Regions from separate parts of the Homo sapiens genome. Here regions 2, 3, 4 and 5 are each linked to region 1. Evidence: promoter capture Hi-C in 16 types of primary human blood cells and fetal thymus (Javierre and others, 2016). All regions are on one chromosome and are shown on one strand. Each heading gives the region's core, a stretch centred on a gene start or on the middle of the fragment in contact. The rest is flanking DNA. Distances are from core to core; before and after follow the strand shown. Region 1 holds the start of HSPB7 (heat shock protein family B (small) member 7). Region 2 overlaps PLEKHM2 (pleckstrin homology and RUN domain containing M2). Region 3 overlaps DDI2 (DDI proteasomal shuttling factor 2). Region 4 has its middle 7.2 kb from the start of SZRD1. Region 5 holds the start of AGMAT (agmatinase (putative)).

Region 1 (5,748 bases), core at 2,385-4,884:
GGGTCTCAGAGCTGGACATGGAAGGTTTGAAAAAGCACAGAGGGAGAGGGGAGGAGGCTGGGAAGGGAAGGAGAAGGCAGGGGGGCAATGGTGAGTGGGGCCAGCATGACCACAGCCTCCCTGTGTGTCAGGTAGAGAGTCAGCCTTCTCCCAGATTAATTACCCTGAGTGCCCACGGAAATCCCACGAGGCAGGCAGCGTGATCCCGTTGTAGAGAAATGGTGTCTCAGGGAGCTGGGGCTGCCTGTCTAAGATCACGGAGGCCGAGGCAGAGCCAGGATTCCCAGCCCAGGTTTGCCTGGCTCCAAAGCCCGCAGGCTGTGCCACACGGTCCCATCCTGATGACCCATCTTGTCCAGGGCTGGCGAGGAGGCCGACACCTGGGGCAAGGCAGTGAATTGGGGTCAGGAACTCGGACTTGATCCTGTGTCCAGACCCTCCAGGCTCAGGAAATGCTTCTCAAAGCACACGTCCAAGGGCCAGCGGCTCTGGTGGGGACTTCTGGGTAATTCCACAGAGTTTGTCCCACCCCAACAGAGGATGGCAGCACAGGTGTGAGGGGACATGGCGAGGAACAAGCACCTGCCGTGTGCCTGCGACGTGTCAGGAGCGTCACATCTGCAGCTCAAGTCCTCCTTCCCACACCCTGTGAATGGGGAGAGCCTCGCCATTTTGTAGATGGTCAGAGAGGTGAGTCACTCATCCAAGGTCACACAGCAGAGGCTGAACCCAGCCCCACACTGTGCAGCTCTTCCCCTGCCCAAAGCTCCTCCAGCTCCTGAGGCTGAACCAGGGCAATGGTTTGGGCACAGAACAGAAGAGTTGTGTCTGATGCCACTTTTGGGCAAGAGGTTGGGGACAATTGCCTCCACTCCCACCCAGACAAAGCCACCCTCTGAAGCTTATGATAGCCCTTGGATGATTGTTAAAATCTGGGACCCTGGGCCACCCTTTGCCCCTAGATGCCAGGCAAGTCAAATCAAAATCAAAGATGTGTGTTGTGGGAGGTGGGATGGGAGTTGCCGCTCTGTATGGACTCGAGCCCACCTTCACCTTGGCCACCCCGACCTGTTGACTCTGCACAGCACCAGAACTGGCTGCCCTGTCAACATCCCGATTTCCAGTGTCTGGTCTGGGGCAGCTGCTGGCTACTGTCCCACAGCCAGCACTGCACGTCCACATCTACCCTCACCCCCCAGCCCTGTGTGCACCAGGAGGCTGAGAAGAGGGCAGCCAGGGTGGCTCAGCAGGATGACCGGTTTGAAGCCAGCACAGCTCTGCTGACCCTAACTCTTTCATCAACTAGAGCCTCAGTTTCCTCTTCTGTATGATGAGGTGAGCCTGGAAGCAGGGGCCTGTCTCTGCCTTATTCATCTCTGAGTCCTTCAGAGCCTAGAACAGTGCCCAGCACCTATTTATAGCAAGGTTTCAATGAATACCTACTGAGTGATGAGGGCTTCATCACTGGCCTATGAGCTGGCTGTGTGGGGAGCTGATGGGAAGAGATGTGAGGTCCCTTCCCCAGATCCCAAATCAAAATCCTGGGGTCCAAGGAAAGGGTCTGTGTTTGTGAAAAGCTCTCCTGGGTGACTGGGATTCAAAGGACTGCATCATCTTTGTAGCTCCTTCTGTCTCTGTGATCTGAAGGTAGAGGCAGGGGAATGTCCTTGATGACCTTTTGAGGTCCCTCTGGGTCAGTGAAGCCAGAGGATCCAGTATTTGTGTGGGTGATGCCTCGGGAAGGGGGAAAAAGGGGAGGAGGAATGGTGGGCGGGGGTGGGTAACGGGATCTGACATCCAGGGGCAGTGACTCAGGCCCTCAGCACCATGACAGTGTGTCTGCATTTAGCCACCGGCTCCTGTTTCCCTGGCGAGCGGCAGGCTCTGGGCCCCCCACCCCGCCCCACCCTCTCTCCATCTCACCTCAGTGCTGGTGGCTTCCCAGCTGCCCTAGAAACCCCTCAGCCAGGCTGGGTGTCACAGGCCCCGACACGGGCAGGAAACTCTGCCAGAGGCAACAGGCCCTGTTGCTCCAGGCAACAGCCTGGCCCGCCGCTGTGCCCTGTGCCCTGCTCTGCTTCCACTCCACATACCACCAGCACCGCTAATACCCCTGTAGAAGGAGCTCTCCAGGATGAAGCTCCAGACTGGGTTGTAGGGGGCTCAGACAAAAGAGAAACTGCCCGTCTTCAAGAACCTTCAATCTAATGGGGAGACAGGTGAACCCTCGCCCCCGTGGGAACTGCCAGTTGGATAGGGAAGAAGGGACACAGCAGAGAGTCACAGCACACAGGAAGACTATGTCACACTGCCAGGTGCTGTGGGAGGACAAAGACAGTCAGTGCTGGGGGCATCTGGACTGGGTGTGGGCCCATGTGAGCAGGAGCAGTCAGAGAGGCCTCCCTGGGGGAGGAGGCATTGGAGCTGATCTGGGACGGAAGGGACGGATTTGGAGAGGACAGCAGAGGCCCTTAACTGCAACCTGGGCAGAGCAGAGGGCCTGGCCGCCTCTCAGAATGGCCTCCACCCTGGCCCAGGGCAAGGTCAGTCCCAGCTTTGCTGAGCAAGCAGGTGGGTAGGGAGGGGCTTCTCTGGCTCTTCCGGGCCAGCCTGTCTCCATAGGCACATGTTCAAACCACCTCGGCCTCTGAAGGGCTTTGGGTCCAACACATCTAGGTTCGAATCCCAGCTCTGCCACTTACGCAACTGCGAGCCCCGCCCTTTCCAAGAGGCTTCGCTTCCCCGTCCGTAACATGGGAAGAGCCCCTCCACCCTCCCAGCTGTGTGGGGATCAAACGGGGCCGTGCTGGACAGCTTGCAGCCAGGAGCCCATGCCCAGAAGGCATTCTAGAACTCAGGGCTAGAATAATTGTCTTCCGGAATTCTCTTTTACCTCTGACTGAAATCCCACCTAAGGCGCTCGCAGGCATCACCTCTGACACAGAGATGGAGCAGACAGTTGCCGGGAACACAACCTTCTAGACCTTTAAGGAGAAAGCTGCCAACTTTGTCCTCTTGGGGCTGCTGAATGTTCTGAGAGTCAGAGGGAGTGCAGGCACAGAATCCAGGTCCCCATGGGGGCTGGCAGGGGACAGCTGCACATTTTACACCCCCTGGCAGGGCTCAACCTTTCCTTAGAGATGGGCTGTGAAGGTTGTCTGCCTTGAGGGAAGGAGCTCCTGACGTCACAGAGCGGTGGTGCTTCCACCTACCCTGTCCCCAAGGAGCCTGCACACTGATGGAGGAGGTACAGCCGTGGAGGAGAACCAGAGTCTGGAGGGGAGGCACAGTCCTCAGGAGCCCCCAGGCTGACGGGGGAAACAAAACACACAATAAACCCCAAACTTGCAAGGTTCTGGGGCAGGCACCGAGGTCCGAGTGGCAAGGAGACAGGATCCAGCCCTGTGCAGTGGTGAGGAGGCCCCTGGGGCTGCTGTGATCAGCCTGGAATGTCAGGCTGTGAGCTCAGCCCTCTCGGCCTGCGTGTCGGGCTGTCAGCAGGGCCGGCGCACGGGAGAAGATTTCCAGCCCCCTCTGGGCCATGGAGAGGCCTAAATTTAGCTAGTAGACAAGGGGCTGGCCCCAAGCCCAGGGACAGTCGGCCTTATAAAGCGGCCGCAGTCGGAGCCTGGCACGCTCGCCCAGAGGCCTGCGCCCACACCCTCTCCTGTCCAGCCCTCGCCCGCCTGGGCAGGGCCCGGCGCCGTCCGTGGATGAGCCACAGAACCTCTTCCACCTTCCGAGCGGAGAGAAGTTTCCATTCCTCTTCCTCTTCCTCCTCCTCTTCCACCTCCTCCTCGGCCTCCCGTGCTCTCCCGGCCCAGGACCCGCCCATGGAGAAGGCCCTGAGCATGTTTTCCGATGACTTTGGCAGCTTCATGCGGCCCCACTCGGAGCCCCTGGCCTTCCCAGGCAAGTGATCCGGGCCCTGAGGGGAGGGGAGGTGCACAGGGAGGGGACGTCTGCTCCAGGGCGCCACCGAAGGCGCTGTGGCTGCCGGTCGGCCTGGAACAGGTGCTGCACAGCCTGCAGCCATGTGTGGCCACCAAGACAGATGTGGCCACAGGGACAGATGTGGCCATGAAAACAGGTGGGCCTCTAAGGAACAGTTGTGGCCCTGGGGGTTGGACATGGTTCCATGGCCACCCATGCTCTGTAACCACAGCCAATCCCAGCTGGAGCCCTGGAGGGCTGGATGGGTGAGCGGTGGGGGGCAGCCCCCAGGCTCCAGGCCTGGGGTGGGGTTGTTACAGACCTAGCCTCATATACACACACACTGTGCTGGGTGAGGCCCCACCCCCACCCCAGAAAAGGTGGGCTGTAGGAATGAGGAGGAGCTTAGGGAGAAACAGCTAGGGGGGAGGTAGGGCCTGGGGGAGCCGCCCCTTGCCCCAAGAGAAGGAGCCAGAACCCCCGGATCTGCATGCAAGGCCTGCTCCATGCCTCGCTCACAGCAGCCCATCCCACAGCCCGCCCCGGTGGGGCAGGCAACATCAAGACCCTAGGAGACGCCTATGAGTTTGCGGTGGACGTGAGAGACTTCTCACCTGAAGACATCATTGTCACCACCTCCAACAACCACATCGAGGTGCGGGCTGAGAAGGTGAGCCCCCCACCCCCTACTCACCGCATCCCAAATTCTGCTCCTGCCTCCAATGTCTCCTACTCCCCCTTACCATCCTGGGACCCCAGACCCTGGCCAGTGTCCCTTCCCCACCCAAACTCCCCCAGGGCTAACTGAAGGCCTTGTCCCTGCAACCCATGGCCATGGGGCCCCCTCACTGCCTCTCTTTGCACCGAGGTTCCCAGATCCTTTCTTCCAGGGCCTGAGCAGCTGAGGGAGCCTCCGAGGAATGGGAGAGGGATGGAGGGATGTGGGCAGAGGGAGCCTGAGGGGGTGGGGCTTGAGGGTGGGAGATGACAGGTGTGAGATGGTGATGGCAGAGTGAGGACAGCTCCTCTGGTAGCTATAGGGGGGCGGATGCGGGTAGGTGGGGAACTCACCTGGGCAGTGGGGGGAGGGGTTTCTCCATGTGACCCACCTCAAGCCCTCTTCCCTCCCACAGCTGGAGACCCATCCCCCATCTTGGGACCCCTAAATTAGGCCCGAGGCTGGGCAGGGGCCCTGCAGTTTCGGGTCACACACACTCCAAACCACACACAGCGCCCGCCCACAGGTCTCAGGGTCACTGGGTCTCTAGCGTGTCTGAGTCCGAACTTCTAGGAGGCACTGGGGCCTCCACCCTGGAGAGGGTATGGCCAGGCCTGAACAGGGGCGTTGCCCAGGGACAGCCACGGCTGCCAGGAGAGAGGAGAGGACCTGACCCAAGCCTCCTCCTAAGCCCCCAAGGACTGGCTTCTTCCCCTCCACATTCAAGGGTGGATTTCTGGGCGTCCCTGCCAGGGATGCCATGGACTGGGGGCACCAAAACCCACAGGCAGCATGTGCCAGCCCTGCCACCCCCAACAGTGACTCAGCCGCCCCAAACTCCCCTGGACACTATGTGCTGGCTGAGTTGCGGGGGAGGGGCCGGCGCTCAGCCCTGGCGGGCAGATGCCCAATGTGCCCGGGGATCCAGGAAGGCACGGCTCTCCTCTGTCACCTCCACGTTCCCCAGGAGCCCCAGATTCGGAGCCACTGCCACGGAGCCTCCTCTCTCTCCAAGCCCCACCTCTTCCCCATGTCCCTGGCCTGTTCCTTGGAGCTACTGGAGCTCTGCGAAGCACCCCTGCGCTGTCCCTGCAGAG
Region 2 (5,509 bases), core at 2,910-5,409, 300 kb after region 1:
GAGGCTGGCCACACCGGCACCCTGACCTCGGACTGTAGGCTCCAGAGCTGTGAGAAAGAATGTCTGTTGTGGAAGCCGCCTGTCTGCGGTGCTTTGTTCCAGCAGCCGAGCTGACTAGGACAGGCCTCCACTTCCTCTTGCTCAAAGAACCTCCTAGAGGTGGGAAGGGTTTCCAGGAAGGCATGCAACTGCCCTCAGGGGGTGTCCCGGTCTGCCCTGGATGAACAGCTGATGCTGGGAGTGGACAGGTTGGACCCCAGGACCTCAGCTCCTTTCTGGGCCCCTCCCTGCTGACCTGATGACCTCGAGCTCCGTGCAGGCATCCGGCGGGTCCAGGGCCTGGGCCTCCTCCTTCTCCTGAGAGGTGGTGTGCACGGGGGTGGTGTCAGAGGAGGACACAGTCTCTGCCGGCTCCTCGTTGAAGGGGTTCTGGCGCTGGGTGGGGCTCCTGGTGGAGGCCTTGCTGCTGGTCAGGTCGGAGGCTGTGGAGCGGGGACCACTGACCGTGTCTGTGAGGTCTCCATCTGGGAGGACAAGGAAGCAGGAGACACCCTGTCAGGCACCCCCCGGGGTCCCCGACCCCCAGAGCATGCGTTAGCCCAGGAGGGAGGCAGGCTGGCCAGTTCCTCCCAGGGAAACCTGACAGGGGTGGCCCCATTTCGAGTAGAAGCCACAACCTAACAGGACATGGGGTTTTGTACTTTAGGAGCAACTTGGAAGGAACACCATCTCCACCACCCCTGGGGCCTCCGGAGCTCACAACAATTTGGCTGAGTTTGTGTTAAGGGCCCCCGCGGTGAAGCAGCCTCCAGGCTCAAGCTCCAGGCTTAAGTCCCATAGGAATGGTGACTTCGAGGCCTCCATGGGTGGCTGGGAGCCCTAGAGAGGAGCCAGGCTGCACGCCTCTTAGGTTACCCTCAGAGCCTTCCTGCCAGGACGCTACAGGGGTACCCAGCAGCCCCGTTAGCCCCATACCCCACTTGTAGGGCTGAGAGGTGCCCAAAGTCCTCTGAAGGGTCCCTTGCAGAGGTAAAAGGAACACAAAGGGAGAAGAATGGAGGAAGACAGCAGAGAAAGTGAGGGGTGCAGAGTGGGGGCAGAGGCTAGGAGACAGGATGGGAGCCCAAGGGGTGGGAACCATGGGGCAGAGGGAAATGCCCAGAGCACAGAGTAGAGACAAGATGACAGAGCAGGGCAATGAGAGCAAGGTGCGAAGGGGCAAAGACAGGGGTCCGAGAGGCCGCCCCCCAGGCTGCTTCTCCCCAGCACCCCTGACCCTACACACTCCTCGGGGGCAGGACCAGGTGCCCCTGCAAGGGTGGTGCTGAGAACTCCATTTCTTTCTTTTTTTTTTTTTTTGAGACGGAGTCTCTCTCTGTCGCCAGGCTGAAGCGCAGTGGCGCGAGCCCGGCTCACTACAACCTCCAACTCCCGGGTTCAAGTGATTCTCCTGCCTTAGCCTCCCGAGTAGCTAGGATTACAGGCATGCGCCACCATGCCCAGCTAATTTTTGTATTTTTAGTAGAGCTGGGGTTTCACCATGTTGGCCAGGATGGTCTCGATCTCCTGACCTCGTGATCTGCCCGCCTCGGCCTCCCAAAATGCTGGGATTACAGGCGTGAGCCACCGTGCCCGGCCGAGAACTCCATTTCATTCAAGTGTCAGCTCACTGACTGGTCCTTTCTGACTCATACCCTGACACGGCCCCCGAGAGGGGAGCTGGCTTGGACATCCCGCCCCACCCAGCCATCTGCCCCTGGTTACTGGAACAGGGCAGGAGAGGGAGCACGGGCAGGTGAAGCACACAGCCCATACGGCCAGTGGCAGATGGGAGCCACCCAAGCAGAGAGCTGAGGCCCAGCTGGTGAAACTGCCTGGGTGAGGGTCAATGGCAAGGGCCATGGCTGGTCGTGCTCTATTTGCCGGCCAATGCTCATCTTGCTGGCCGCTGTCTGCCCGGAAGAAAAGAGGCAAACATGCACCCCACAGCCCCACTGGGGGCCCAACCAGCTGTCAACTTAGTGCCCTTGGAAGCCACAGGGCAGCTGTCTGCTGATGCAGCACACCGTCCTTTTTTTTTTTTTTTTTTTTTTTTTGAGACAGGGTCTCGCTGTGTCGCTCGGACTGGAGCGCAGTGGCGCAATCACAGCTCACTGTAGCCTCGACCTCCTGGGTTCAAGTGATCCTCCTGCCCTGCCTCAGCCCACAGAGTAGCTGGGACTATAGGCGTGCACCACCAAGCCTGGCTAATTTTTATATTTTTAGTAGAGACGGGGTCCCCCTGTGTTGCCCAGGTTGGTCTCAAACTCCTGGGCTCAGGCGATCCTCCAGCCTCAGCCTCTCAAAGTGCTGGGATTACAGGTGTGAGCCTGGCCCTTTTTTTTTTTTTTTAAGTCTGCTGTCTTTTAATATAAGGACAAAAGAGGAGGCTAAAGGCAATGAGTAGCTCTGCCAGAAAAGACCAGCAACATCGGGGACTTTTTCCAGATTTCCGGGGATCTCAGAGCCTAAGTTCTAAGATACAGAAAACCGCGTCTCTCGGTCCCAAAGCAGGCTCCTGCCAAGCCCATGTGTTCTTGCTCCGGCTCCTGTGATTCTCCTCAGCACACGCAGTTGCACCCAAGAGGAGCCCTGAGAGGTGAGTGGGCAGATCATGAGATGTGGTGGGTGTCAAGGCCCGCATGCCCACCAGCTCTGTAAATAAGCCAAAGACCAGGGGAAGGCCACCCCAGGCTCAGAGTTTGGAGCTGCCCCAAGTCCTGCCTTCCTCCAGGTCCAAGGAGAAGACAGAGCCTCCCCGGGTGAGCTGCCAGAGTGAGCTCAGGAATCCTGCTCCAGGAACTCCAGAAATCTCACCCTGCCCTGAGGCAAGCAGTGCAACTGGGCTGTTAGTTCTCAGGCCGCAGGGAGCTCTGAAAGGCTGTAGAGGAAGGTCAGGCCCTGCTTGTCAAGTGACTGCAGCAGGCGTGTCAGGAGGGGGGTTAGTTGTTAGAATCGGAGGGAAAAAAAAACAATATCCAGCATGTGTGCTGCAAGAAGAGGGGCTAAGAGGGTACATGATGTTATGATGGAATTCTGGAATCCAAGCTAATTTAACTCAAACAGGGGACCCTTCAATGCTACTCTTGGCCAAGTGTCATAGTTTATTTTTCCCAATGCCACATCTTATTTCTCACAGAGTTAAGGTATTTCATACTCACATTATCTGGGAACGGATCACCTGTCACCCATTACTCAGCAATCACGTCTCTAATAATGCGGGGAGAGCCACGTGCCCCTCATCCTCAGGGTGTGGCAGTTCTCACCTCCCCTGTTCAGAGGCCAGGTTCCCTCACCTCCCCTGTTCCAGGCTGGAAGTGGCCCAGAGGGTAGGAGGCTCTTTAATAACAGGGATTTGGACCAGGTGCAGTGGTTCATGCCTGTAATCCCACACTTTGAGAGGATGAGGTGGGGTGGATCACCTGAGGTCAGGAGTTTGAGACCAGCCTGGCCAACATGGTGAAACCCTGTCTCTACTAAAAATACAAAAATTAGCCGGGCGTGGTGGCACACACCTGTAATCCCAGCTACTTGGGAGGCTGAGGCAGGAGAATTGCTTGAACCCGGGAGGTGGAGGTTACAGTAAGCCAAGATCACACCACTGCACTCCAGCCTGAGCAACAGAGCGAGACTCCGTCTCAAAAAGTAAAATAAAATAACATAAAGTAAAATAACAGGGATCTGCTATGGCCTCAGATTTAAGGGGGAAACATTCACCTTATTGGCAACATAGCCTTTGCTTTGAGTAATCGTGGCAACCTGGGAATAGCTTTGTGAATTTATGAAGTGGAATTTCAGGCAGAAAAATGCCCAGGCACTGCTACTGCCCAGCAGACAGGGTGGGAGGGCTGGCAGATTTCCTTTTAATCTGCTTTAAAGCTTCAAAGAGATTCTGTCTGTAGGAAGTTTCAGCTGTACCTGGGCAGTTTCCTGACTTGGACCTCAACCACTCCAAAACACCCAAGAGGAAGCCATTAGGAACAGACTGAAAGAATCAAGCTCTTTCTCTTCGATGCTCATCTGACCCGCAGGAGCTTACAACCCGCATGTTTAAAGGCATGGTTTTCCAGAACAAGTCTTGGTTCACTGGGTCAGGCCCTACACACCCCGAGAGCATCAGCTGGCACTGGAATCAGGAAGGGTGACCCTGTATCCCCCGAAATGCAGCCACTTAGTGACTCCGAAAGGCCACTGAGCAAAGGCAGGAGCCCTGCACTGGGAGAAGGGATTTGCCTATGGCTAGAGGTTGAGTTTTCCCACTGCAGAATTCCATCTATTAGAACACCAAACTTGGCTTTATTATGATTATGGATATTATTATAAATAATAAGGAGCTGATTTGATACATGCAGCAAGCTTGGCATGGAAACATTGCAAAACAGGAAAAGAGGGTAACAGCGGACTCTGGCCCACCTTCCCAGTCTGTGCTGGGTACAGACGGCACTGCTGGAAACACATCTCCAAAATCATAATCTACAAAAACGAGGGACAAAACTGAAGATTAGAAACACAGGCAGTGGAAGGATGACTGGAGGGAGGGGAGGGGAAATGGGGTGGGAGACATGGGGAGAAAATAGGAGAGGAAAACTTCAACTTTCTACATTGTATCCAACAACCTTGGGGAAACTTACTAGGGCCCTGACTGCCTCTCAGCTCAGGCGCTGGCCCAGGAGCCTCCAACCAGCTGGAAAGACCTGTCAGGGTGACCCCTTTCCACATCCAGAAGCTGGTTCTGGCAGAGAGAAGCCTGGCTGCCTGTGCCTAGCTTTGTTTTCTACCTCTTACGTGCCTTCCCTCCATACCCTAGCAGGGCAAGGAGACACTGCCCTGGCAGCTGCAGTTGCACAATCTCCAAATTGCTGAGGGGACACCTCCATCCATGGATCCATCCTTGCCCTGGCTCTTCCGGCAAGGCCCACCCCTCCAACTCCTCTAAGGTGGCCCATGGGCCCAACCTAAGGAGACTGTGCCGCCTTCTTCAGCTTGCACGGTCAGCAATGCAGGTCTTGCTAACAGCAAGTTTGAGAGGGACCTCCCTTCCTGGGACATATAACCCGTGGTACAGCAGAAATAAAGAAAGGGGAAGGTCAAGGTCTCAATGCTGAGGCAATTCTAGGGTGCCCCAGGGCTAAATTGGGGCTGGGATCCCCTTCCCTGGAGGTGAGGTGGTGGGGTGAAGTAAATGAAGGGCTCTGGTCTCCTACAGGAGATAAAGAGGGGAAAATGGCCAGTTTTATCCATGAACACCAGGGCCTAAGGTTTGAAAGAAACCAGGCTGTTCCAGTAAATCATTGGGTCAAGACAACAAAATGACCTGCAGCTTCTTCCTCGGTCCCTGATGCAAAGGGTGCGACCATCCCAAACACATCAGCGAGCGCAGAAGGAACTCAGAGAAATCGGACGGACACACAGGACACAGTGGCAAGGTTTCCCTGCGCTTCAGACCTGCCTGGTTCTCTCTTCTTCTAGG
Region 3 (5,324 bases), core at 2,640-5,139, 390 kb after region 1:
CAACCCAAATGAGTTTCAACAAAAAATCCTCTGCAATAACACCAGCTACTTTGGCTTTTCTGGGGTCCATATGTAGAGAGTCTCTTCAGAGGTACAAGGTTTTCACCTTTCAAAGAATGGATGTGGCCAGGCGCAGTGGCTCACACCTGTAATCCCAGCCCTTTGGGAGGATGAGGAGGGTGGATCACCTGAGGTCAGGAGTTTGAGACCAGCCTGGCCAAGATGGTGAAACCCCATCTTTACTAAAAATACCAAAATAGCCGGGCGTGGTGGTACATGCCTGTAATCCCAGCTACTCAGAAGGCTGAGGCAGGAGAATCGCTTGAACTTGGGAGGCGGAGGCTGCAATGAGCCGAGATCGTGCCACTGAACTCAGGCCTGGGCGACAGAGCAAGACTCCGTCTTGGGCCTGGGGTGGGGAAGAGAATAGATGTGTCACCCTATTTCCTTCATTCAAGCCCTAGAAAGAAACATGAGCCTTATGGACACTCTCTATTTCACTTCTATTCTTATTTATTTTTTTGAGATGGAATTTCGTAATGACTTAGGGCTGTCAATTAATTCTAGTGTACAATTATATTTCTTTTTTTTTTTTTCCTAAGATGGGGGTCTCACTCTCTTGCCCAGGTTGGAATGCAGTGGTACAATCATAGCTTACTGCAGCCTCCAACTACTGGGCTCAAGTGATCTTCCTGCCTCAGCCTCCTGAGTAGCTGGGACTGCAGGTGCATGCCACCACACCTGGCTAATTTATTTTATTTTTTGTAAAGACAGAGTCTCACTTTGCTGCCCAGGCTGGCCTCAAACTCCTGGCTTCAAGCAAAGTGTTGGGATTACAGGCATGAGCCACCAGGACTAGCCTGTATTTCTGATTTCAAATGTAGTAAGAAGAGTAAGAGGCAGGACATGGTGTTCACACTTGTAATCCCAGCACTTTGAGTGGCTGAGGTAGGAGATCAATTGAGGTCAGAAGGAAGATCAATTGAGAAGAAGGACGGGCTAAGTGCAGTGGCTCATCCCTATAATCCTAGCACTTTGGGAGGCTGAGGCGCGTGGATTGCGTGAGCTCAGGAGTTCAAGACCAGCCTGGGCAACACAGTGAAATCCTGTCTCTACAAAAAATGAAAAAATTAGCTGGGCGTGGTGACAGATGCCTGTATTCCCAGCTATTCGGGAGGCTAAGGTGAGAACACCTCAGTCTCGGGGAGGTCCAGGCTGCAATGAGCTGTGATTGTGCCACTGCACTCTAGCCTGGGTGACAGAGTGAGACCTTGTCTCAAAAAAAAAAAGATAAAAAGAATAAGAAGTTTAAAAAAGCATGATTTAATTTCTAAGTTGATAGATAGTGTAATACAATGACCAAGTTAGGCTTCATTTAAGTAACCGGAATGATGACACGGTCCCTAAAAGGCCAAGCAGTCTAAGTGTAGTAAGTATCGTTGCTGTTATCTTCTTCTTAGTTATACTAAGTTCTTCACAATTAGCAACAAAAACTGACTTGAGGCAGGAAAAGCAGCTGTCCTTTTTTTCAGAGAATGACTGAACAGAATCTTGCTTGTGACTATCAGTGTGACTGAGGCCGGAACAGCGTCACTGTCCTTGCTTGAGCTCCATGCCCGACAATTCTGATTCATCAGATTTGGGAGAAGAGTCCAAGCATCTGCATTTTTAAAAGTTTCTCATGTGATTTTACTATAGCCCCAGGTGAGAACCACCGCATTACAGAAACTGAGAGCTGGAAACATGTCCAGCATTCAGTTTATCCACTGAGGCCAGTACAAGAAATGCAGCAGGAAAACAGACTTAGGACTACCAACGTTCCATCGGCGCAGAGCCCTCTCTAATCCAATCATGTTTAAGCCCTGGATTTAATCAGGACTTATACAATATGTCTAAAGAAAGAGAGTCAAATCAGCCCATGTAATATGCAACCAGCCTTGTGGTCTCACCAGATGGTGGCTTCTGCTCAGTCCGGGGGTCATTTATCTAAAGCTGTGTTATGATGCTCTGTCTGCTAGTCAGGGAGTCCTCCTTAAAATTTTAGAAAGAAAGTCATTAAACTAAGCACCTATATCTTTGTCATGTCAAATCGAAATGCATAGAAAATGAAAGAGGAGAGACTAACCTAAAAGACTGAGGTTACTATCTCAACTGCAAAACAGAGAAGCTACCTCCAAGCAGATGCCCAACCAATGTCAGATAACCTGCAGTCTGGGAAATCTGGAGTCTCTAAGTTTTGTTCTTTAGATGAACAGGTCTTTACCTTATATCTTCTTCTATCTTTGCCTGAGCTTCAAGGTCAAAGGGATCAGCAGAAAACAGACGAATCCTTTCTTGCTCTCTCCGGGCTCGGTCCTGCTGCTGCTCCACCAGGACTCTAGAAAATTTCTCTACAAAAATAAGGGAGAAAAATCTTAAATATCACTATATTTTCAACGTTTATCAGTACTTTTCCACACCAAACAATTTATCAAACTACATCTGTAAGAGATGCAGAGAGGATGCCTAAAGCTTATTTAAAATGAGCAATTACATTTACTTTCTGTTCTCTGAGTCAAGGCTATTTCATCATTTAAATTCAGTGTAAAGAAAGTATTTGTGGCTGGGTGTGGTAGCTCATGCCTATAATCTCGACACTTTGGGAGGCTGAGGTGGGAGGACCGTTTGAGCCTAGGAGTTCGAGACCAGCCTGGGCAACATAGCAAGACCTTGTCTCTACAAAAAATATAAAAATTAGTTGGGCGTGGTGGTGCATGCCTGTAGTCCCAGCTACTGTTGGATGGGGGTTCAAGGGTGGGGGGATGGCCTGAGCCCAGGAGGTCGAGGATGCAGTGAGCTGTGATCGCACCACACACTCCAGCCTGGGTGACATGGTGAGACCCTGTTTTTTTTTTTTTAAAAAAAAAAAAAAAAAAAGTATTTGCAAAAATTTTTTATAAGAAGTTATCTATCATATTGTTTCTACTCAGAGGTAACAACTTTCCAATTTAAAATGGTGGGGAGTGACCATGTGGCAGATCAATGTCTCCACTCCTCCATTCCTCATTGTTCTCATTATCCTACTACCTAGAAACAAAATACAGCATTATATAATCTCCTTTTCCTCTTCTAGTTTCATTTCTTTTATAACATGCCCTGCCTTAAGCCAGATACATTAAGTATAAACTATTTTTAGTCTACCTATATTTTGTGTGTGTTCTGATGAATTAATAGGCAGGAAAATTAGTAGAGAAAACACTGCTTGCTATAAGATGTATGTTACAACAAGAACCTATTTTGCAATTTCTTTTTTTTTGAGATGGAGTTTCGCTCTTGTTGCCCAGGCTGGGGAGCAATGGCGCAATCTTGGCTCACTACAACCTCCACCTCCCAGGTTCAAGTGATTCTCCTGCCTCAGCCTCCCAAGTAGCTGGGATTACAGGTACCTGCCACCACGTCCAGCTAATTTTTGTATTATTAGTAGAGACTGGGTTTCACCATGTTGGCCAGGCTGGTCTTGAACTCCTGACCTCAGGTGATCCACCGTGCCCGGCCTATTTTGCAATTTCTTAAATGGTGGTACATTTAAGTGTGCAAACTTAAATGCCCCATCATCACCATCTTTGGTGATTAGATATGCTGATATAAGAGATTAAAAGATATTATGACAATGGTTATCTGAACTACTAATGCACACAATACAGATGGATCTAAAAAGCATTAAGTTGAGTGAAAAGCCTAACACGAGCTGGGAGTGGTGGCTCACGCCTGTAATCTCAGTACTTTGGGAAGCCGAGACGGGTGGATCACGAGGTCAGGAGTTTGAGACCAGCCTGGCCAACATGGTGAAACCCAATCTCTACTAATAATACAAAAATTAGCCGGGTGTGGTGGTGCACGCCTGTAGTCCCAGCTACTTGGGACACTGAGGCGGGAGAATCGCTTGAACCCAGGAGGCGAAGGTTGCAGTGAGCAGAGATCGCGCCACTGCACTCCAGCCTGGGAGACAGAGTGAAACTCCGTCTCAAGAAAAAAAAAAACAAAGCCTAACACGAAAGAGCAGACACTCTATTATTCCATATACATGAAGTTTAAAAATACGGGAAACTAAACCATAAGATTATCAAAACAGTAGTAACCTATAAGGAGAGGAGATTGACTAGAAAGCAACACAGTGGAACTTTCTGGAGTGAGAGAAATGTCCTGTGTCTTGATTGGGGTTACAGGAGTTTGTCAAAACTCAAGGAATTGTATATTTAAAATCTGAGTACTTCGCTTAAGGTAAAGATTGCCAATTTAAAGACAGTCAATTGAGGAATGAGTCATTAAGTGTCTGTTATGTTTTTAGACTTAACCCAATTTAACTCATAAACCCAAGAGTAAAATGAGAGTAATTTACAGAGAAAACTCGATTCATAAAGATGGCTACAAGTTAGCTGGGTGCAACTGCTCATGCCTGTAATCCCAGCACTTTGGGAGGCCAAGGCAGGCAGACTGCTTGAGCCCAAGAATTCGAAAGCAGCCTGGACAACATGGCAAAACTCCATCTCTACAAAAAATACAAAAAATAACTTGGAGTGGACTGAGGTTATGGTGATTCCATTTTGCCATACAGGGCACTGAACCTTCCTGGCATCAGCTGGCATCAGCTGGCTTGTTGATGATCTCTTTAATTGAAGATCTAACTAAGGTTAAAATATCGGTACTGGCTGGGCATGGTGGCTCACACCTGTAATCCCAGCACTTTGGGAGGCCGAGGCAGGCGGATCACGAGGTCAGGAGATCGAGACCATCCTGGCTAACACGGTGAAACCCCGTCTCTAATAAAAATACAAAAAATTAGCCAGGTGTGGCAGCATGCGCCTGTAGTCCCAGCTACTTGGGAGGCTGAGGCAGGAGAATGGCATGAACCCGGGAGGCGGAGCTGGCAGTGAGCCAAGATTGCACCACTACACTCCAGCCTGGGCGAAAGAGCAAGACTCCGTCTCAAAGAAAAAACAAAGAAACAAACAAAAATCAGTACCTAGGTTATCTGCTGCCAAAAACAATGAGGAAAACAAAAAGTAAACCAAGGGGGGTGGCCTAGATGGATTTCACTGCTAAAACTCTATTGCTGTTTCCAAGTAACTCAGCCTTTGACTTTAGCACTAATTTACCTCTCACAGAGAAAAAACTGGTATGTTCAATAAATCATGTGACACAGTGTCGCTTGAGTCTCTTCACATTTGCTATGACACAGCTTCTTCACCTCAGGCCAGCCTAATAGCCTTCCAAATTTATAAGCTTACCAAGGTCTCCACTGAGCAGAGCTTCTGCCAGGGGTGGATTGCGTTCCTTCAGCAAGG
Region 4 (5,547 bases), core at 1,878-4,377, 340 kb before region 1:
CTCACTGCAACCTCCACCTTCCAAGCACAAGTGACCCTCCTGCTTCAGCCTCCTGAGTACTGAGTAGCTGGGACTATAGGTGTGTGCCACCACACCCAGCTAAGTTTTTGCATTTTTTTTTTTTTTTTGGAGATGGAGATTCTCTCTTGTCACCCAGGTTGGAGTGCAATGGCGTGATCTTGGCTCACTGTATCCTCCGGATTCAAGCGATTCTCCTGCCTCAGCCTTCTGAGTAGCTGAGATTAGAGGCCTGGGCCACCATACCCAGCTAATTTTTTTTTTTTGACAGAATCTTGCTTTGTTGCCCAGGCTGGAGTGCAATGGTGTGATCTCGGCTCACCACAAGCTCTGCCTCCCGGGTTCAAGCGATTCTCCTGCCTCAGCTTCCCAAGTAGCTAGGATTACAGGCGCCTGCCACCAAGCCTGGCTAATTTTTGTATTTTTAGTAGAGACCGGGTATCACCATGCTGGCCAGGCTGGTCTCAAATTCCTAACCTCAGGTGATCCACCCGCCTCGGCCTCCCGAAGTGCTGGGATTACAGGTTTGAGCCACCGTGCCCAGCCCGGTGTATTGTATTATTAGTGGAGACAGTTTCTCCATCTTGGCCAGGCTGGTCTCAAACTCCTGACCTCAGGTGACTTTTTTTTTTCCTGAGACAGAGAGTCCACTTTTTTTTTTTTTTTTTTTTTGAGACGGTGTCTTGTCTTGCTCTGTTGCCCACGCTGGAGTGCAATGGCGTGATCTCAGCTCACTGCAACCTCTGCCTCCCAGGTTCAAGCAATTCTTCTGCCTCAGCCTCCTGAGTAGCTGGGACTACAGGCACGTGCCACCACGCCTGGCTAATTTTTGTATTTTTAGTAAAGACGGGATTTCACCATATTGGCCAGGCTGGTCTCAAAGTCCTGACCTTGTGATCTGCCCGCGTCAGCCTCCCAAAGTGCTAGGATTACAGCCATGAGCCACTGCGCCCAGCTTTTTTTTTTTTTTTTTTTTTTTTGACAAATTTTCGCTCTTGTTGCCCAGGTTGGAGTGCAATGGCATGATCTCAGCTCACCACAACCTCCGCCTCGCGGGTTCAAGCGATTCTCCTGCCTCAGCCTCCCGAGTAGCTGGGATTACAGGCATGCGCCACCATACCCGGCTAATTTTGTATTTTTAGTAGAAATGGAGTTTCTCCATGTTGGTCAGGCTGGTCTCGAACTCCCGACCTCAGGTGATCTGCCCGCCTCGGCCTCCCAAAGTGCTGGGATTACAGGCGTGAGCCACCTCGCCCGGCCGAGATAACTTTCTATCTGACGCACAAGCTGAAGCTAGGTAGATAGTTGTGATGAGTAAATGGCAACTTACCAATATTGAAAATGTGCAGGCTGGGCATGGTGGCTCACACCTGTAATCCCGGCACTTTGGGAGGCCAAGGCAGGTGGATCACCTGAGGTCAAGAGTTCGAGACCAGCCTGGCCAACATGGTGAAATCCCACCCCTACTAAAAATACAAAAATTAGGTCTGGTGCAGTGGCTCATGTCTGTAATCCCAGCACTTTGGAAGGCTGAGGCAGGCAGATCATGAGGTCAGGAGTTCAAGATCAGCCTGGCCAGCATGGTGAAACCTCATCTCTACTAAAAATACAAAAAGTTAGCCGGGCATGGTGATGCGCACCTGTAATCCCAGCTACTCAGGAGGCTGAGGCAGGAGAACTGCTTGAACCTGGCAGGTGGAGGTTGCAGTGAGCCAAGATAAAGCCACTGCGCTAGCCTGGGTAACAGACTCCATCTCAAAAAATAAAAATAAAAAAAATAAAAAATAAAAAAATAAAAATAAGGCCGGGCACGGTGGCTCATGCCTGTAATCCCAGCACTTTGGGAGGCCAAGGCGGGTGGATTGCCTGAGGCCAGGAGTTGGTGACCAGCCTGGCCAACATAGTGAAACCCTATCTCTACTAAAAATACATAAAATTAGCTGGGCGTGGCAGCAGGCGCCTGTAACCCCAGCTACTCGGGAGGCTGGGGCAGGAGAATTGCTTGAACCCTGGAGATGGAGGTTGCAGTGAGCCAAGATCGCTCCATTGCACTCCAGCCTGGGCAACAAGAGCGAAACACCATCTCAAAAATAAATAAATAAATAAAAATAAAAATACAAAAATTAGCTGGGCGTGGTGGCACGCACCTGTAATCCCAGGTACACAGGAGGCCGAGGCAGGAGAATCGCATAAAGCCTGGAGACAGAGGTTGCAGTGAGCCGAGATCATGCCACTGAACTCCAGCCCGGGTGATAGAGCCAGACTCAGTCTCAAAACAAACAAACAAACAAACAAAAAGAAAATGTGCATACCTAAGGATATCCATTGCTATTTTGTCTATAATCAAAAAAGACTGGAAACAAATTAAATGTTCATCGCTAGAGAATTTGTTTTAAAAGACTATGGTACATTCCTATAAAAGAATAGAATGCAACTGTTAATAACATTTATATTGTCCTAAATGCACTGATACTGAGTGATCTCACATGAGAACTAAAAATAAAATCCTAAACCTTCCAACGGACTAAATGGACACCCTTTTGGTACAGGGGACCCCAGAGAAGCCATGATGGAACAGGAAGTCAGACACACTTGGTTATACCCTATCCCTTTCACAGTTTAGACACAACAATTGACCAGCATTAATGCTAAAATAGAGATCATAAGACTGACACAACAAATGCTTTGTGGTAATAAGATGCTTTTTTTTTTTTTTTTTTGAGACACAGTCTCTCTCTGTTGCCCAGGCTGGAGTGCAGTGGCTCGATCTCGGCTCACTGCAACCTCCACTTCCCAGGTTCAAGAGATGCTCCTGCCTCAGCCTCCTGAGTAGTTGGGATTACAGGCTGGCAACACCACGCCCGGCTAATTTTTGTATTTTGAGTAGAGATGGGGTTTCACCATGTTGGCCATGCTGGTCTCAAACTCCTGAGCTAGTGATCCTCCTGCCTCAACCTCCCAAAATGCTGGGATTACAGACGTGAGCCACCGCGTGCGACCAAGATGCCAATTATAAACAGGACATAAGGTCATACCAAGCAAGGGTTAAGTCATGCACCCCAACCCTTTAAGAATAAACTATGTTCTGGCCAGGTGTGGTGGCTCATGCCTTTAATCCCACCACTCTGGGAGGCCGAGGCAGGCAGATCACCTGATGTCAAGAGTTCGAGACCAGCCTGGCCAACGCCGTGAAACCCTGTCTCTACTAAAAATACAAAAATTAGCCAGGCGTGGTGGCGCATACCTGTAAATCCCAGCTACTTGGAGGCTGAGGTAGGAGAATGGCCGGAACCTGGGAGGCTGAGGTTGCAGTGAGCCGAGATCATGCCACTGCACTCCAGCCTGAAAGACAGAGCGAGACTCTGTCTCAAAAAAACAATAAATTGGGCCGGGCGTGGTGGCTCATGTCTGTAATCCTAGCACTTTGGGAGGCTGAGGCGGGCGGATCACGAGGTCAGGAGATCGAGACCATCCTGGCTAACATGGTGAAACCCCATCTCTACTCAAAATACAAAAACAGCCAGTCGTGGTGGCACGCACCTGTAGTCCCTCAGGAGGCTGAGGCAGGAGAATGGCATGAACCCAGGAGGTGGAGCTTGCAGTGAGCCGAGATTGTGCCACTGCACTCCAGCCTGGGCGACAGAGGGAGACTCCATCTCAAAAAAAAAAAGAAAACAAAAGAATAAATTATGTTCTGGGCTGTACACAGTGGCTCACACCTGTAATCCCAGCACAATTTCAGCACCTTGGGAGGCCAAGGCAAGGTGGGCGGATCACCTGAGGTCAGGAGTTCAAGACCAGCCTGGCCAACATGGAGAAATCCTGTCTCTACTAAAAATACAGTAATTGGCTGGGCGCAGTGGCTCACGCCTGTAATCCCAGCACTTTGGGAGGCTGAGGCGGGTGGATCACCTGAGGTCAGAAGTTGGAGATCAGCCTGACCAACGTGGTGAAACCCTGTCTCTACTAAAGACACAAAACATTAGCTGGGCATGGTGATGCGTGCCTGTAACCCCAGCTACTTGGGAGGCTAAGGCAGTAGAATCGCTTGAACCCAGGAGGCAGAGGTTGCAGTGAGCCGAGATTGTGCCATTGCACTCCAGCCTGGCTGATAGGGCAAGACTCTGTCTCAGATAAATAAATAAATAAATAAATAAATAAATAAATAAATAAATAAAATAAAAAACCAAAAAATACAAAAAATTAGCTGGGCGTGGTGGCACACACCTGTAATCCCAGCTACTTGGGAGGCTGAGGCAGGAGAATCGCTTGAACCCGGGAGGGGGAGGTTGCAGTGAGCCGAGATCACGCCATAGCACTCCAGCATGGCGACAGAGCAAGACTCTGTCTTGAGAAAAACAAAACAAAACATATAGATAGAAAAGGTACGGTAAAAATATGGTATTATAATCTTATGTGACCACCATTGTACATGTGGTTTGCCATTGACCACTGTTATGTGGTGCGTGACTGTGATTGATTATTGGGACAGACTCTGGAGGAAAGTACCTTATTTAAACGTATTAGAGAGACTCCAACCACCCCTTTCATTCTAGCCTTATCCCCTGTCTTTAATCATGTCCCAATCAGCCTTCACACTGCAGAGAGACTATTCTGAAAAACCATTTTAATTATAGAGTATAACCTCCCCGTTCCCAGTTCTTCATGACCTATAATGTAATCTCCAGTCTTCCCCCGATATTCCAGCCACTATGTAGCTCAGTTTCGTCATCTTTAAAATAGGCACAATAATGACGCCTACTTAGCAGAGTTCGGTACATAATAAATGTAAACAATAAATAGCAATTGTGATTATTATTAGAGTTTAATACTTTTGTCCTTATCACAATTTATACTTCTATCTTGTCTACAGTCTTTGTGTATTGGTTATCTCTCTCAGTAGATAGTAGGGCCCTCCACAAGGGCAGAGACCTTATGTTTCATTAAAAAATATATATGACCATGGCCGGGCACAGTGGCTCATGCCTGTAATCCCAGCACTTTGAGAGGCCGAAGTGGGTGGATCACCTGAGGTCAGGAGTTCAAGACCAGCCAGGGCAACATGGCAAAACCCCATCTCTACTAAAAATACAAAAATTAGCTGGGTATGGTGGCACGCACCAGTAATTCCAGCTACGCAAGAGGCTGAGGCACGAGAATCACTTGAACCCAGGAAGCGGAGGTTGCAGTGAGCAGAGATTGTGCCACTGCACTCTAGCCTAGGCAACAGAAGCAAGACTCTGCCTCAAAAAAAAAAAAAAAAAAATTATGGCCAGGTGCAGTGGCTCATGCCTGTAATCCCAGCACTTTGGGAGGCCAAGGTGGGTGGATCATGAGGTCAGGAGATCGAGACCATCCTGGCTAACACGGTTAAACCATGTCTCTACTAAAAATACAAAAAATTAGCTGGGCGTGGTGGCAGGCACCTGTAGTCCCAGCTACTCGGGAGGCTGAGGCAGGAGAATGGCGTGAACCCCAGAGGCGGAGCTTGCAGTGAGCCGAGATCATGCCACTGCACTCCAGCCTGGG
Region 5 (5,124 bases), core at 670-3,169, 430 kb after region 1:
CATTGGAACGCCTGGCACATAGCGGACACTCAATATTTGTGAGCTGAATGAAAGAAAAACCCGGAGTAAGAACATGATACATTCAGGACAAGCAACATGAAAGAAATAGCAGTTGAATTTGGGAGTCAAGAGAATAACTGAGACCCTTTAAGTGGCATAAGGGAGAAAAAAAGGAAAAAATAACTGAGAGATTGTTGCATTTGTTCCAGAAAATGGCTGGGACCTGCCCCAAGGCCAACACTAAGCACTGATAATTGACCATTAGGAAACTCTGTCCCGACCTGCAGAGTGGAGGCTCCACTCCAGAGTGGAGGCTGGAGTGGTGTGGGGTTTAATGTGCAACCTTTTTTTTTTTTTTTGACAGAGTCTTGCTGTGTTGCCCAGGCTGGAGTGCAGTGGCGCGATCTTGGCTCACTGCAAACTCCACCCTCCCGGGTTCACGTCATTCTCCCGCCTCAGGCTCCCGAGTAGCTGGTACTACAGGTGCCCACCACCACGCCTGGCTAATTTTTTGTATTTTTAGTAGAGATGGGGTTTCACCATGTTAGCCAAGATGGTCTCATCTCCTGACCTCATGATCCGCCCACCTCGGCCTCCCAAAGTGCTGGGATTACAGGTGTGAGCCACCGCGCCTGGCCTAATGTGCAACCTTTGTGTAGAGGTTGCAACGTAAATGCAAATGTGAGCCTTTTCCATTCAATCTCAACATTTAGAGATCAGAAAAAATAATATATATAATACTGCTAAATGGCTCACATAATTCCATTACAAATCACTTCTTTCTTTCCACGTGTGTTTTTCTTTCCCCTTAGAAATAAAGAGGATGTAACAGGTTCTCTGGCACTGTGACCTTCCTTACAGCTTGCCTGTAAGTCCTTTATTTATTTATTTATTTATTTATTTATTTATTTATTTATTTTTGAGACGGAGTCTTGCTCTGTTGCCCAGGCTGGAGTGCAGTGGCCTGATCTCAGCTCACTGCAAGCTCCGCCTCCCGGGTTCATGCCATTCTCCTGCCTCAGCCTCCCAAGTAGCTGGGACTACAGGCACCTGCCACCATGCCCGGCTAAATTTTTGTACTTTTAGTAGAGATGGGGTTTCACCGTGTTAGCCAGGATGGTCTCGATCTCCTGACCTCGTGATCCGCCCGCCTCAGCCTCCCAAAGTGCTGGGATTACAGGCGTGAGCCACCGCCCCTGGCCTCTAGTCCTTTTTTAACAAGGTTATTTAAAAAGACTTTACTGGCCAGGCGCGATGGCTCACGCTTGTAGTCCCAACTACTCGGGAGGCTGAGGTGAGACGATTGCTTGAGCCCAGCAGTTTGAGGCTGCAGTGAGCTATGATTGTGCCACTGCACTCCAGCCTGAGCAACACAGCAAGACCCTGTCTCAAAATAACTAGCTAGCTAGCTAAGTAGCTAACTAACTTTACTGCTTCTTGAGATTCCTATCCCTGGACATTTAAAAATACATTATTTAAAAAAATGCATTTCCTATTTTTCTGGCTTAGAGAAAGATCATTTTCCTTCATATCTTTCTGGCTTTAAAAATATTACTCTGGGGTGGCTGCTGTGGCTCACACCTGTAATCCCAGCACTTTGGGAGGCCAAGGTGGGAGAATCACTTGAGTCCAGAAGTTGGAGACCAGTCTGGGCAACACAGTGAGACCGTCTCTATAAAAACAAACAATTACTCTGAATGGGAGAAGAGGCTGCTGAAGGCCACAGTGGGGAGCAGGGCGCAGACACCCCTGGCACAGTGCCGGCCAGTGGGCACCCCCAGCCTGACTCTATTTGCCAGAGGCTGAAGTCCAGAGGGGTTGAGGGGAGAGCACGGCAGGTCCTGGGGCCCCTCCCCCGCCTTGATCCTAGGGCGCCCCTGACCTTTGAGCCGGCTCGGGTTCCGGCTCTGGCGCGTGCACACTCGCCTCGCCGTTCGGGACCAGCCAGATCGCGGCGGCCTCGCGGGCGGTTTGGTCGGTGAGGTCTTGGCCGCGCGCGGCAATGCTGAGGCTGCTGGCGTCCGGGTGCGCCCGGGGCCCGGGGCCCGGCGTGGGCGCGCGTCCTGCCGCAGGGCTCTTTCATCCGGGGCGCCGCCAGAGCCGCCAGGCTTCCGACGCGCCCCGGAACCAGCCCCCCAGCCCCGAGTTCGTGGCCCGGCCGGTGGGCGTCTGCTCCATGATGCGCCTGCCGGTGCAGACCTCCCCCGAGGGGCTGGACGCTGCCTTCATCGGGGTGCCCCTGGATACTGGGACCTCCAACCGGCCTGGGGCGAGGTAAGGCCGGAAGGACGGGGGCCGGGTACACGTGGAGGGACTGCTTGCTGGCTGTCGGGCATGGAAAGCACCGAGACAGGCGCCCCTGCTGGCCCCGGGTCGAGTTGGAAGCTGGTGGCCGGCTCCAAAATGCCCCTTATGGTTTGAGATGGTTGATTTACCTGGACCCTCAATAAGCAAACCCCAGGGCTCAACATGGGCGTGGCCTCCCACATCTTAGTGTCATCATTGGTCAAGAAGGGATTTTGGCCGGCCCGGTGGCTCATGCCTGTAATCCCAGCACTTTGGGAGGCTGAGGCGGGCGGATCACGAGGTCAGGAGTTCGAGACCATCCTGACCAACATGGTGAAACTCTGTCTCTACAAAGGTACAAAAAAAAGAAAAAAAAAGCCGGGCATGGTGGCGCGGGCCTGTAATCCCAGCTACTCGGGAGGCTGAGGCAGGAGAATCGCTTGAACCCGGGAGACGGAGGTTGCAGTGAGCTGAGATTGCGCCACTGCGCTCCAGCCTGGGCAACAGAGTGAGACTCCGTCTCAAAAAAAGAAAAAAGAAGGGATTCTGGAGCCTGAACCTTCTCTGTGTCCCCATCCTGGGGCCTTGCTGGGATGGCTGCTGTGGATTCCTCCCCTCTCCTCTCCCCAGCTTACAGTGGCAGGTGACATTGCATTTGAGAGCAGAAACTGGCTGCCCCTTCCCCAAATCTGAAGATGTCACCTGACTCAAGAAATGCTCAAATGAAGGCAATTTTCCTAGGATCAAGTCGGAGGAAGCAAAATTCATCTTCCTAGTTATTGAACGTCAGCAATTTCTGATTCAGCTCAGCAACACTATATCTGACCGTACTGATCTGAATTATGAAAGCCAGCACTTATTAAATGTCTCCTAAGTGCAAGGTGCTTTGCATAGATTACCTCATTTAATTTTTACTACAGTGCAAGGTAAATATTTTACAAATTAGGAAACTGAGACTCAGGTAGATCATGAAATTCACTAATGCCATTTAGTACACTTATTTAGTCTCTTCGATACATAGCCTAGATCGGTGATTCTCAAGTGGGGCGGTTTTGCACTCCGGGGACATTTGGCAGTATCTGGAGGCGTTTTGGGTTGTTACACCTTGGAGGAAGGGTGCTACTGGCACCTAGTGAGTACAGGCCGGGATGCTGCTAAGCATTCCATTATGCAATGCCGCGACACGGAATCATCTGGCCCCAAATTGCTGAGGCTGAGAAGCCCTGGCCTAAGCAAAGCCTGAAATCTCTGCAGATGATGGCTGACAGGATGATTCTTCCTTCTGCAGATTCGGACCTCGCCGCATCCGGGAAGAATCAGTGATGCTTGGGACAGTCAATCCTAGCACGGGGGCCCTCCCCTTCCAGTCCCTCATGGTTGCAGACCTAGGCGATGTGAATGTCAATCTTTACAACCTTCAGGACAGCTGCCGGCGAATTCAAGAGGCCTATGAGAAAATTGTAGCAGCTGGCTGTATTCCTCTGACCTTGGGTAATGTCAGTCTGCAAGAGCCAGAGTAGTTCCCTGCACTCAGGGTTTACTTATCCTGTACTCAGGGGCTTGAGTACAGCTACTTCTCCCCTGCAAGCCACTGCAAATGTGCAGACAGTAGGAAAGAGAGCATTGTAATTCATTTATTTTAATCCCTGGGGAGAGAATATTTCACGTGTGTGTGTATGTGTGTGTGTGAGACAGTCTCACTCTGTTACCCAGACTGGAGTGCAGTGGTGCAATCTCGGCACATTGCAACCTCCACTTCCTGGGTTCAAGCAATTCTCCTGCCTCAGCCTCCCAAGTAGCTGGGATTACAGGCGCCCACCACCATGCCTGGCTAATTTTTGTATTTTTGGTAGAGTCGGGGTTTTGCCATGTTGGCCAGGCTGGTCTTGAACTCCTGACCTCAAGTGATCCGCCCACCTTGGCCTCCCAAAGTGCTGGGGTTACAGGCATGAGCCACCGCGCCTGGCCAAGATGATGTTTCTAATGACTTTATTTGCGAGGAGAACTGCAAAGAGGGTGTTTTTGTCCTGCTCAGGGTCTACATCAACCTATAGGGCAGCTTTCCCCTTATCCTCACCCCTGACCCACTCTCACTTTTTCTCTTGTTCACAAATACTTAAAATGACAGGGATCTTTTCCTAAATATCCAAATTCATTTTTGCCAAGTTAGAGAGCCTAGCCTGCATGGCATAGTGGGAGGAGTGTGGTTTCCCGATGGCATGGTTTGAAGTCTCAGCTGCACTTCTCCCTAGCAATGTTGCTGTATACCGTGCTTGATGCTTCACACCCTCACCTGTAAGATGGGAATGATCACAGTAACACCTACTCACTGCATGATGTGAGGGGCATATAATGAAAGTGCACATGAAATGCCCAGCATCAAGCATGGCATATCTTTTTTTTTTTTCTTTTTTTTTGAGACAGAATTTCACTCTTGTTGCCCAGGCTGGAGTGCAATGGCACGATCTCGGCTCACTGCAACCTCCGCCTCCCGGGTTCAAGCAATTCTGTCTCAGCCTCCTGAATAGCTGGGATTATAGGCGCCCGCCAGCATGCCCGGCTAATTTTTATATTTTTAGTAGAGACGGGGTTTCATCATATTGGTCAGGCTGGTCTCGAACTCCTGACCTCAGGTGATCTGCCCACCTCGGCCTTCCAAAGTGTTGGGATTACAGGCGTGAGCCATTGCGCCCGACCTATGCATGGCATATCTGAAGCTTCAATAAATGTTAACTGTTATTATTATCAGAAAGAATACTTTCCTAGGTCTGTGCTGTCCAGTAAGGTAGCCACTAGCCACATGTGGCTACTTAAATTCTTTTTTTTTTTGAGACAGAG

The links. Contacts are between HindIII fragments. The CHiCAGO score rates a contact against its expected background, and 5 or more counts as called.
Region 2: a contact is called between a fragment that was not itself captured here and the fragment with the promoter of HSPB7 in region 1, in 1 of 17 cell types (erythroblasts). The highest score is 5.3, in erythroblasts.
Region 3: a fragment that was not itself captured here is called in contact with the fragment with the promoter of HSPB7 in region 1 in 1 of 17 cell types (total B cells); the score reaches 5.4 in total B cells.
Region 4: a contact is called between a fragment that was not itself captured here and the fragment with the promoter of HSPB7 in region 1, in 1 of 17 cell types (endothelial precursors). The highest score is 6.1, in endothelial precursors.
Region 5: a contact is called between the fragment with the promoter of AGMAT here and the fragment with the promoter of HSPB7 in region 1, in 2 of 17 cell types (erythroblasts and M2 macrophages). The highest score is 7.0, in erythroblasts.

What each region holds. Positions count from the first base shown.
Region 1 is chr1:16,015,929-16,021,676 of GRCh38, reverse strand. It overlaps HSPB7 (heat shock protein family B (small) member 7), which reads left to right and starts at 3,634. Exons shown (of 3, transcript NM_014424.5): 1 at 3,634-3,912; 2 at 4,470-4,603. The coding sequence starts at 3,714. RefSeq lists enhancers at 3,341-4,085, 4,086-4,832. The HindIII fragment of the contact is 15,911 bases long and covers 904-5,748 here.
Region 2 is chr1:15,720,332-15,725,840 of GRCh38, reverse strand. It overlaps PLEKHM2 (pleckstrin homology and RUN domain containing M2), which reads right to left. Exons shown (of 20, transcript NM_015164.4): 7 at 4,453-4,512; 8 at 296-524. Among named protein-coding and RNA genes, the nearest start is that of SLC25A34, 13 kb to the left of the region's middle. RefSeq lists an enhancer at 1-517 and a silencer at 1,037-1,313. The HindIII fragment of the contact is 477 bases long and covers 3,921-4,397 here.
Region 3 is chr1:15,630,505-15,635,828 of GRCh38, reverse strand. It overlaps DDI2 (DDI proteasomal shuttling factor 2), which reads right to left. Exons shown (of 10, transcript NM_032341.5): 3 at 5,268-5,324; 4 at 2,264-2,390. Among named protein-coding and RNA genes, the nearest start is that of DDI2, 16 kb to the right of the region's middle. The HindIII fragment of the contact is 2,751 bases long and covers 2,514-5,264 here.
Region 4 is chr1:16,357,243-16,362,789 of GRCh38, reverse strand. No RefSeq gene overlaps it. Among named protein-coding and RNA genes, the nearest start is that of SZRD1, 7.2 kb to the left of the region's middle. RefSeq lists a silencer at 2,111-2,327. The HindIII fragment of the contact is 7,817 bases long and covers 1-5,547 here.
Region 5 is chr1:15,581,846-15,586,969 of GRCh38, reverse strand. AGMAT (agmatinase (putative)) reads left to right here and starts at 1,919. Exons shown (of 7, transcript NM_024758.5): 1 at 1,919-2,274; 2 at 3,575-3,777. The coding sequence starts at 2,003. RefSeq lists a silencer at 1,937-2,266 and an enhancer at 2,377-2,426. The HindIII fragment of the contact is 7,120 bases long and covers 1-5,005 here.